3 separate regions of the Homo sapiens genome follow, and regions 1 and 3 are each linked to region 2. Evidence: promoter capture Hi-C in human tissues and cell types (Jung and others, 2019). All regions are on one chromosome and are shown on one strand. The core of a region is centred on a gene start or on the middle of the fragment in contact, and the rest is flanking DNA. Distances in the headings are between cores, read along the strand shown.

Region 1 (3,873 bases), core at 1-2,500, 290 kb before region 2:
AGGCTGGACTGCAATGGTGCGATCTCGGCAGTGCCTGGTGGCACATGCCTGTAGTTCCAGATACTTGGGATGCTGAGGTGAAAGAATCCCTTGAGCCTGGGAGGTCAAGGCTTCAGGGAGACATGTATGCACCACTGCACTCCTGCCTGGGTGACAGAGTGAGAACCTGTTTCAAAATAAAATAGGCCGTGGCTGGGCGCAGTGGCTCACACCTGTAATCCCAGCACTTTGGGAAGCCGAGGTGGGTGGATCACCTGAGGTCAGGAGTTCAAGACCAGCCAGACCAACATGGTGAAACCCTGTCTCTACCAAAAATACAAAATTAGCTGGCTGTGGTGGCACATTCCTATAATCCCAGCTACTTGGGAGGCTGAGGCCAGAGAATCGCTTGAACCTGGGAGGTAGAGGTTGCAGTGAGCCAAGATAGCGCCATTGCACTCCAGCCTGGGTGACAGAGTGATAAATAAATAAATAGGCCAGGTGCAGTGGCTCAGGCCTGTAATCCCAGCACTTTGGGAAGCCGAGAGGGGAGGGTCACCGGAGGTCAGGAGTTCAAGACCGGCCTGGCCAATGTGGTGAAACCCTGCCTCTACTAAAAATACAAAAATTAGCCGGGCCTGGTGGCGGGTGCCTGTAATTCCAGCTGCTTGGGAGGCTGAGGCATGAGAATCACTTGAACCCAGGAGGTGGAGGTTGCAGTGAGCCAAGATCGCGCCACTGCCCTCTAGCCTGGGCAACAGAGTGAGACTCTGTCTCAAAAAAATAAAAATAAATAAATAAGCTGTGCATGTTGGTTCATGCCTGTAATCCCAGCACTTTGGGAGGCCAAGGCAAAGGGATCACCCGATGTCAGGAGTTCAAGACCAGCCTGGCCAACATGGTGAAACACCATCTCTACTAAAAATACAAAAATTACCCGGGCATGGTGGTGCCTGCCTGTAACCCCAGCTGCCCAGGAGGCTGAGGCGGGAGAACCGCTTGAACCCAGGAGGCGGAGGTTACAGTGAACCAAGATCACTGCCACTGCACTCCAGCCTGGGTGACAGAGTGAGACTCCATCTCAAAAAAAAAAATAAATAAATAAATACAATGACAATCTCTGGAGGTGGGTTACCATCATGTGTTTTCATCTTTTATGACTATTTCAGGTCAGCTCTATGGCTCTTCCACATGATTCAAACGAAACTTCCTATTTGCTGCCTCCCAACAATGAGGACTGGGGCAGGCAAACCATTCCTGACTTTGTTTATGGGCAGAAGGATCTCATGGCAGAAGGGATTCAGTGGCCAAGGAATGCACCTGGCATCCCAGATGCTCTGCCACAATCTCCCTTTGATGCTGCACTCTGCTCTGCCTGGAAGCAGCGGGTGGAGCTGGGGCTGTTTCGCTACCGTCTACGGGAGCTACAGACCCAAATCCTCCCTGGTGCTGTGGGTTTCGTGGCTCAGCTGAATGTGGAGCGTGGTGTGCAGAGGAGGCCCCCGCAGACCATCAAGAGTGTGAGGCAGGCATTTGACCCTGTACAGTTCAACTTCAACAAGATCCGGCCCGGAGAAGTCCTCTTCCGTTTGCACCGGGAGCCTGATCTCCCTGGGACTCTGCTGCAAGAAGACATCCTGGTGGTGATCAACGTCAGCCCCCTGGAGTGGGGCCACGTGCTGCTGGTGCCTGAGCCTGCCCGCCAGCTCCCCCAGCGCCTGCTGCCGGGTGCACTGAGGGCAGGGATTGAGGCTGTGCTGCTGAGCTTACACCCGGGCTTCCGTGTCGGCTTCAACAGCCTGGGAGGCTTGGCCTCGGTGAACCACCTCCACCTGCATGGCTATTACCTGGCCCACAGACTGCCCGTGGAGCAGGCGCCAAGCGAGCCCCTGGACCCTGGAGGCCATTTGCATCTGCTCCAGGACCTCCCAGCTCCTGGCTTCCTCTTTTACACTCGTGGGCCAGGGCCTGACTTGGAGTCCTTGATAAGCAGGGTATGTCGGGCCACTGATTATCTGACTGACCATGAGATTGCTCATAACTTGTTTGTCACCCGGGGAGCTCCGCCGGGAAAGACATCACCTTCCTCAGCCCTCACAGGGGTCCGAGTAATTCTGTGGGCCCGGAAGTCCAGCTTTGGGATAAAGGACGGTGAAGCTTTCAATGTTGCCCTCTGTGAGCTGGCTGGGCACCTCCCTGTCAAAACATCCCAGGACTTCAGCAGCCTGACAGAGGCAGCTGCTGTGGCCCTCATTCAGGACTGTCGGCTGCCCCCATCCCAGGCAGAAGACGTACAGGCAGCACTGGTGGCCCTGATGTCCCAGGAAGAGCAATAATACTTCTGGATGTATTTATGTTCTTTTTTTCTTTTCTTTTGAGATAGGGTCTCACTCTGTCCCCAGGCTAGAGTGTAGTGGTATGATCCTGGCTCACTGTAGCCTCCACCTCTGGGGCTGAAGTGATCCTCCCACCTCAGCCTCTTGAGTAGCTGAGACTATAGGCGTGCACCACCACACACCTGGCTTTTTTTTTTTTTTTTTTTTTTTTTAACGATTAGGTGATTTTGTATTTTTTTATATAGACAGCGTTTCACCATGTTGCCCAGGCTGGTCTTGAACTCTTGGGCTGAAGCAGTCCTCCCACCTCGGCCTCCCAAAGTACTGAGATGACAGGAGTGAGCCCCTGGATTCTTTTCTGTTTCTTTTTTTTTTTTTTTTTTTTTTTTTTTTTTTGAGATAGTCTCGCTCTGTCACCTAGGTTGGGGTGCACTGGTACAATCTCGGCTCACTGCAACCTCCACCTCTAGGGTTCGAGTGATCCTCCTGGCTCAGCCTCCCGAGTAGCTGGGACTATACAGGCTCCTGCCACCAAACCCGGCTAATTTTTTTGTATTTTTAAAAGAGAAGGGGTTTCACCACATTGGCTAGGCTGGTCTTGAACTCCTGACTTTAGGTGATCCGCCCGCCTCGGCCTCCCAAAGTGCTGGGATTACAGGCGTGAGCCACCACACCCAGCCAGGATGTATTCATTTTCTACCTGATGAGTCCCTTTCCAGAGCACTGTCCATCATAGTCCTTTGGACATTTATTTTCATGGCTGCCTTCTCACCTGTCTCAGCCTAAGAAGAAGGATGAAGAAAGCTGATAATGATCTCTTAAAGGGGAGAAAGATAATGGTCTCTTTAAAGGGGAGCTGATAGTGGTCTCTTTAAAGGGGAGAAAATCTGGAATAATTCTACTGAGTAAGACATCATGAATGTATCTGCTACCTCTCCCCGTTCTTGTTCAAGCCCCAGGGGTGTTAAAAAGGAGTGTGTGTGACAGTTACACACTCCTGACTTTACATTTAGATTTTGTCTTCCTTTGATATCAAATGTTAGCACGGTAATAGTGCCTGTGCCTCCAGTATTGAGCTGCCACTTCTGTTCTCAGCCTGTTTATTCCCCTTTGCTCACCACTTATTTTTATTGCTTTGTCCCTTCTTTCCATTTAGCCCTGCTCCACCCAAATGCCCCACTCCTTCACTTTCCCTGCCACCTTGAGCTTTCCTCTAGCCCCCAACACCAAGTTGAATGCTCTTCACTGACATCATCTGATGTAAAAACACAGTGTTGTCACAACTTTCCGGGTGCACGTCTTTTTTTGTTTTGTTTTTTTGTAAGGCTGGGGTGCAGTGGTGCAATCACAGCTCACTGCAGACCCAAACTCTTGGTCTCAAGCCACCCTCCCACCTCAGCCCCCTGAGTAGCTGGGACGATAGGTGTGCACCATCACACCTGGCTAATTTTTAAATTTTTTGTAGAGATAGGGTCTTGCTATGTTGCCCGGGTTGCTGTCAAACTCCTGGCCTTAAGAAATCCTCCCACCTCGGCCTCCCAGAGTGCTAAGATGCCAC
Region 2 (3,560 bases), core at 305-2,804:
CTGAGAGACAGGTGAAAAACATAATGGAATATTATCATATAAATGAATTGACACAAATATATCTCGAAAACATAATGGAGAATGAAAAAAGATGCAAAATGATTATTCAGTATGGTGTCATTTTTGTAAAGTTTAAAAACAAAATTAGGTATTCCATATAGCATTGCTGGATCTCTACATCATATGTAATAAAAGTATAAAAACACAAACTGGAATGATATGTACCAACTTGAGCACGGTGACTATCTGTGGGGCGGAAGAAGAAATGAGAGTGGGGCCGTCGTTATGACTAATTTTGTATGTCTTTAATAAATCCCAAGTACATGCAGCAAAATGTATTGATGTCTGTTTAATCTTGATAGTGGGGGGCGTGGGTAGTATTAATATTATTTTCCGTACTCTTCCGTAGGCCTCTAATATTTCCCTCTTTACAGAACACTGACACACGCTCAGGGCTCCCCGGGACATCTTTGTGCACATCAACATTTATGCTGAGAGTAGCTTCTGGACTCCAAAGAGGAAACTCCCCGGGCACTGTGGCCCACGCCTGTTATCCCAGCACTTTGGGAGGCTGAGGTGGGCAGATCGCTTGAGCCCAGGCGTTCGAGACCAGCCTGGGCAAAATAGCGAGACCCACCCCCGCCCCCCATTGCTACAAAAACATTTACAAACTAGCCGGGCGTGGTGACCCCCGCCTGTGGTCCCAGCTGGTCGGGAGGCTGAGGTGGGAGGATCTTTTGAGCCCGGGAGGTCAAGGCCGCGGTGAGTCGAGATCGCACCACTACACTCCAGACCGGGCGACAGAGAAAGACATCCATTCACTCCCCCAAAAGAAGGGGAAATTCGCTGAGGCTGAGCGCTGGTTTCCCAAGGTGGGGCTGGCACCTGCTGAAGCTGCCACAGGAGTGGAGAGGCCGTAGGGAGACTTGGAAAGAACCTGGAAAGGGGGCCGGGGCTATGGAGCCAAGGCTGCAGCAGGGCTGGATGGTGTTTGTAGTTTGTGCAGAATAGGAGGCAGTTTTTAAAGCCGAGATACAGCTCTGGTTGACTGGAGCGGGGAGGGGTGGGTGTGAGAGGTCAGGAAACCAGCGGCTGGAGGCCGGGGGCCTGGAGCGGCAGGGCTGGCGGGCAGACGTTAGGCCCCAGGCAAAATGGGCGCACCCCCTGCGGGGGCCCGAGGTGACCTGCTCGAGGTCCGGTCGCCCAGGTTCCACCTGGAGAAGAAAATCTTCGTAATTTGGCTGGGGGAGGGGGGATGCGGGCACAGGCTGTGTTCTCCACGTCGCGTAGACGCAGAGGCCATCCCTGGGTCGGAGAGTCTCCGTGGAGTGGCACCCCAGCGTTCCCCGTACGCCGGGGCCACTTTGTCGGGCTGACGGGGGTCCCTCCAGGTGGCCGCCGGCGGCGGGTCCCGAGCCAGACCGGGAAGCGGGGAGCAGCCCTCAGCCCGCGAGCGTGGGGCCGGGGCAGACTGGAGGCCGGGCGGGCCCCGCCGAGGGTGGGGCGGGGCCGGGCGCACGGGGGCGGACCTCGGCGCGCTCCCGGCCGCTCGCTGGCTCCGGGGCCGCGGCGGCTCCTCTGCCGGGTCGCGCCGGACGACTGGCTTCGGGCGGCGGCCCCGGCGGCCTGTGGACGGACGGGTGGGCCGAGGTACAGGCCCCACGGCCGCCGTCTCCCGCTTCTGCCCGCGCAGAGTCCGCGCCATGGCCGCCTCGCCGGGCTCGGGCAGCGCCAACCCGCGGAAGTTCAGTGAGAAGATCGCGCTGCACACGCAGAGACAGGCCGAGGAGACGCGGGCCTTCGAGCAGCTCATGACCGACCTCACCCTGTCGCGGGTGAGGGCCCGGGCCGGCGCGGGCGGGGGCGGCCACGGCCGCGGGCGGGACCCGCGCGGCGGGTGAGAGGTTGCGGGGCCAAGGCGATGGCGGGGCCGGGCGGGGGCCGCGCCCGGGAACCGGCGGCTGGGAGGGGGACCGGAGCGGCCGCGGCCTCGGCGTTTCCCCGCCTGGCGACACCCGCTAGCCGTTCGCGATCCCGGGCTGAGGTGGGAGGGTCGCCCGGCCCCGTGTGCGGGAAGATGGGCAGGGGTGAAGCCCGTGGAGGCGGGCGGCCGTGCGAGGGCGGCCTGAGGGGGAGGAGGACGAGGAGCCCCGAGAGGAAATCGCAAACAGCTCGGAGGCCGGCCGGGTGGCGCGGCGCGGCTTCTGGTCGCTCCGAACATCCCCCACCATCGAGCCCTGCTGTTCTGCCGGCGTGGAAGGCCGCGGGCACCCCAGGGTCCCACGCGCTCGTGGGGGGAGCTCTGTGCACAAGTCCATCCAGGGCCCGGCCCTGGGGTGGCTCGGGTTGTTGGAACCACGACGGGATTCCGTGTCGAGTGTGAGGCTCTGCTCCTTTTACTCCTTGGAGGTGCTTTATCGGGTCCAGTTTACTTTGTTCGGCCCGGGATATTTAGTGAGAACTGACAAGCGTCGCTGGTGACTGGAGAGGGACCTGGAGGAATGAGTAAGGCGCGAGCCGGGACAAACACCTGGAGAGGTTAGGTAACCGCTGAGTGAGGCAGTGGAGGATGGAGAGCCAACCGGAGTGTCCGCGCAGGGTTGCAGAGAAGGGGGGTCAGCAGGAGTGGGGCTGGCCTTGAGGATCCTGAATGCTGACCTTGGAGGACCATCGGGAGGATGGGGGAGGATCTGCAGATTCTGGGGGACTGAGGCGGGGGAGACAGTTTGAAGGAGAGCTGAGAGCAGAGTTGCAAACCAGCTGAGTTGCAGACACATTATTTTTTGGCCAGCGCAGTGTTTGGGAAAAATTATTGAATCTGTTGCCAGAATTTTTAAATTGGAAGACTTCCACACAAAATCCAAATTTCCGTATTATTTATTTATTATTATTTATATATGTTAAAAATTGGGAGACCTGGTAACACTAATTCTGAATTCCTACATGACAGCTACCGACCTGCTGGAGCTGGGTGATGATGAAAGGGAGCTGAGCTGAGCTCCCTTTCAAATGGAGTAAGAACTCTAGTTTGCCACCGTCCACTCTCTGTCACAGTCCCCCAAGGGGAGATTAGGTGACAGTTGCCATTTATACTCATGATGGTGTTTTCTTTCAGTGAAGTTAAGGAAAAAGTGAAATATTTCCTGTACTTACATTTCTGTTCACATTGAGAAAAAATATATATATAGAGAGAAAGAAGCTGAAGATTTCAAGAAAATGTTTTCTTATACCCTATCAGCTTCACTCATTTTTTACCTGCCTGGCATCCACTGGCATTTACATCTGTGACCTTGGTTAGATTCAGAGATGAACTCGATAAGCTCAGAGCACGTTGAAAAGAATGGGTGGGTGAAAGCTGAGGATTAGTGTTGGGGCCTGTGTTGTTATGTGTTTTTAAATACATACTGTACATTGTTTATGTACAAATACATGCACTGTATATGTCTGTATACCTATGGCGGATCCAATCTTTCACCCAATTCATGAATCTTCTTTAAAATATCCCTGACAGGTGAGGCCATGAGTAATGTACAGACTCTCTTTTAAAAGCAAAAATTTTT
Region 3 (3,604 bases), core at 119-2,618, 510 kb before region 2:
ATGTCCAACATCCTGTCACTATACTGCTTGGCATCTTGCAAGGGATGCATCCTAATGACCCATCCTGTCCACTTTTGTTTGGTTACTTGGTGAAGGTGGGAGTGTCTTGAACAGCATGGTGCTGTTCCCCTGGAAAGTTTATACTCATCAGTGCCCAGTTGTTTGCAGAATTCGAGAATGGATGGGAAGCACCCAGGAAACGGTTCCCAAATGGATGCATTTTGATATCTGAAATAGACTTTAAAGCTTTTGGCTTTTGATCATAAAGGGACCGGCAACATTGAGACACCTCCCCACTGCTCCTCAGGTTTTCCTGGTGCTTGAATAATTAAGGCCATGCCCTATGGAATCTCCTTCCTTGGGCTCCAGGGCATCTCTCTTAGCAAAGGCTAGCTTCTCACTCACAGTGTGCTGTGAGCGCTCTGGACGTCCTACCCAGCATTCTGCTCCATCATCTTCTTGTGTTCTGTCTCCCCCAGAAAAACTTCTGTGTAACATCAGCTGTGTTCTTTTGCTTCAATTACAGAGCTTGTTAGAATTTCTCTTCCAAATCCCTGTTTTGGGGCTTTTCTTTTCTTTTTTCTTTTTTTTTTTTTTTTGAAATGGAGTCTTGCTCTGTCACCCAGACTGGAGGACAGTGGCGTGATCTCGACTCACTGCAACCTCCGCCTCCCGGATTCAAGCAGTTCACCTGCCTCAGCTTCCTGAATAGCTGGGATCACAGGCGTGTGCCACCACACCCAGCTACTTTTTGTATTTTTAGTAGAGCCGGGGTTTCACCATGTTGGCAGGCTGGTCTTGAACTCCTGACTTCAGGTGATCCGCCTACCGTGGCCTCCCAAAGTGCTGAGATTACAGGCGTGAGCCACCGCGCCCAGCTGGGGTTTTCCTACCGTGGTTGTAAAAATTCATTTCTTGTCGCCACCTAGATTAACAAATCTCAGATTAAGAACTGGCCTTTTTTCGCCTCCTCTTTGAATTCACTGTCTAAAGAAACGGCCATTGCCCTTTCCGTAAACCAGGACAGAGGTCATGTCTGCTTTGCCTTTTTGCACCTTGGCCCCTGCCTGCCCCTCACCTCCCCACTCAGCTACAGTGACTGGAAGGGCCCACACAGGAAAGCTGGGCCCTGGGTCTTCATGGACGTTGCTGGAGGATGTGTCTCCCTGCTGGTGGCTCTCAGTCTTCCTGTGCTCAGTAGGGCCTTCTGGAGGATTCTAATTTCCCTGTCCTGGAAACCACCTTGAAAATATTCTTAAATATTCTTAGGTGGATTTAAGATGTCTCTGTCTAGTGGTTTTTTGTTTGTTTGTTTGTTTTTTAATCCATCTTAGATTTGAATGCCCAAGGAATGAACAGTCTCTTGGATCTTGTATCTCTTCCTTTTGTTTTTTAGAAAATAGCTTTTATTGATTTTTTTTTCTTGCTACAAAGAGGTTGATGATTATTGCAGAAAATTTAGGGACTATAAGTAGGCAAAAAAGATAAAAACCACCTATAATTATTAATATTTTAGTATATTGTATAGCCCCCCCAGAATATTTTTCAATTTCAAAAGATGAGATCATACTGTTTGTACCATCTTATTACTTTTTCTTTCTTTTTTTTTTTTTTTTTTTTTTGCTTTTACTTTACAACATGTGATTAAAATTTCCATCAGGTTAAGCAGCCTCCGTCAAGTCACTTTAAAGGGTTGTATAGTTCTTTTGAACAGATGGACTATCATTTATTTAACCAATCTCCTACATTTAGCTTGTTTCCTCTGTTTCTGTCTTGTAAAGAATGCTGTGGTAAACATCCTTGGGTATATTTGCCCACAGACTTGGTTATTTCCTTGGGATACATCTCCAGAAGAGAATCACTGGGCCAAGGACACATTCTAAAGGCTGTTCGTCTAGATGGGTAAATTGCCCCCAGACACATTGTATCATATTTGGATTCTGTTTAGCCAAATACTAACTCCCATTCTTTTAAACATGGTTGTGAGTCTTTCAGACCTCTGTTTCCTAATGTTTCTCACGGGTCATACAGGTTGGCTGAGAGTAAATGGCAAGGAAGGGCCTGAGAGACTCCGGGCACAGCTGACCTAGGAAAGGGAGTCTGTCATCCTGGCCCGTCGCTTTACAATGGGAGTGCGAGGGCTGGGCCCAGAGACCCTGTCTTGCCTCCCATGACCCCAGGAAGCTGCAGGCCTGTGGCTCCCCAGGGTAACCTTCTCTGGTGCCAGCCGTTAGGGTGCCCGGGACAGAGAGCTGGCTTTGAGGATTCCAGAGTCTGTCAGAGAACTTAGGCTGGTCTTTCTTCCAAGAGAATGCTCCTAAACAAACATCCTGCCCTAATCCAGAGACTAGGTTGGTGCTTATTGGGGGGCGGTGAGTGGGGGAGCCGAGGATTTCCTGTGGAGGCCTCAGACTCTAGCCCAGGAGTCCAGGCCAAGGAAGTGCCTCTGCCCAGACTTTCAGCCCCTTGAAGCCCAGTTCTTCGTCATCACTTGGTGTGGGGAACAGAGGGAAGTTTGATGGAATTACTGAGGAAGTAGCATTTACGTGGTCTAAATCGGACCTTCCTGTTCCCACTGCTGACCGGCTCTTCCTCCTTTTCCGCTGTCTTCCTCCTGCGTGACAGCGCATTCTTCATGGGGCCTCTGGGGCCCTTCCTGTGGGCTGAGCTTCTTTCTTCCCTTTTCTCTCCTGCCGGGACCTAGACTGGTGCCCACCTTCAGGACTGGGCACATCCAGGCACCTCACAGCCCCTTCCCTCCTCCAGCTCTGCTACCAACGCCCCTGCACCCTTCCGTCCAGGCAGGGCTGTCCCAGCTGAGGCCCAAGCCCAGCCCACCCTTTCTTCTCAGTTCTGCCAAGAAGGCCATGGGGGCTGGTGGAGGCCCGAACTGCCTCCCCGCCCCCGGGGAGACACAGCATGCCAGCTGCTGCCGGGATGGGTTACAAAAAACAAAAACACAAACCCCAGCCCCTTGAGATGAGGGACGTTTCGGTTTCTGTGAACCTGACGCCTCATGTGTGTTGGAAATGAGAGGCGCAGTTTGGGAGAAGGAGGCTGCATGTTTCCCCTGGGGTGGGCTTTGTTTAAATTTTAATATGCTCTTCCTTTTTCTCAAAGTGCCAGCAATGGCTCCCAGCTCCTTTGTCATTTTAGCCCCGTTATCTGTCTGGGGATGAGATCTCTTATCTGCCCGGTCCTCCCTCTCCTCCCTGAATGGCGGGTCCCCCACCCGCCTCCCCGCAACTTGTGACAGTGTTACAGATCTCATTCTGCAACCTTAGATTCAGATGAAACTTGTCACTTTGCTTCTTTAATCAATTAAGATTTGGGGAAAGCAGGGGTCCATTTGTGATAGTGTTGGACCCACCAAGGGCATGAGTAGTGGGCAACTTTGGAGTCCTGTGAGAGAGGGTGTGGCACCCCCCCCCCCTTAGCAGCCTGGGGGACGTCAGCTCCAAGGGTGAGGGTTTCAGCCCTGGGTTCCTTGCTATGGAGTCAAACGTTTCTCCAGTGTGTGTTCAGACTTCTGACCTGGACCCGCCTTAGCCTTGGGGAGCTCTCTCAACTGCGTCCTTTGTTGGATGGAAACTGCATTAGACAC

Evidence for each region. Contacts are between HindIII fragments. The study calls those that stand out against the background at their distance.
Region 1: a fragment that was not itself captured here is called in contact with the fragment with the promoter of CRTC3 in region 2 in 5 of the 25 tissues and cell types used here (H1 embryonic stem cells, aorta, dorsolateral prefrontal cortex and 2 more).
Region 3: a contact is called between a fragment that was not itself captured here and the fragment with the promoter of CRTC3 in region 2, in 1 of the 25 tissues and cell types used here (spleen).

The regions. Positions count from the first base shown.
Region 1 is chr15:90,239,752-90,243,624 of GRCh38, forward strand. It overlaps GDPGP1 (GDP-D-glucose phosphorylase 1), which reads left to right. Exons shown (of 4, transcript NM_001013657.3): 4 at 1,149-3,873. The coding sequence starts at 1,158. The coding sequence ends at 2,315. It also overlaps a transcript of CIB1 not described here. Among named protein-coding and RNA genes, the nearest start is that of GDPGP1, 7.5 kb to the left of the region's middle. The HindIII fragment of the contact is 7,306 bases long and covers 1-3,873 here.
Region 2 is chr15:90,528,369-90,531,928 of GRCh38, forward strand. It overlaps CRTC3 (CREB regulated transcription coactivator 3), which reads left to right and starts at 1,555. Exons shown (of 15, transcript NM_022769.5): 1 at 1,555-1,835. The coding sequence starts at 1,704. RefSeq lists silencers at 1,009-1,058, 1,159-1,908, 1,929-2,108 and an enhancer at 2,499-2,658. The HindIII fragment of the contact is 24,563 bases long and covers 1-3,560 here.
Region 3 is chr15:90,017,588-90,021,191 of GRCh38, forward strand. All of the region lies in intron 1 of ZNF710 (zinc finger protein 710), which reads left to right. Among named protein-coding and RNA genes, the nearest start is that of MIR3174, 13 kb to the left of the region's middle. The HindIII fragment of the contact is 6,651 bases long and covers 1-3,604 here.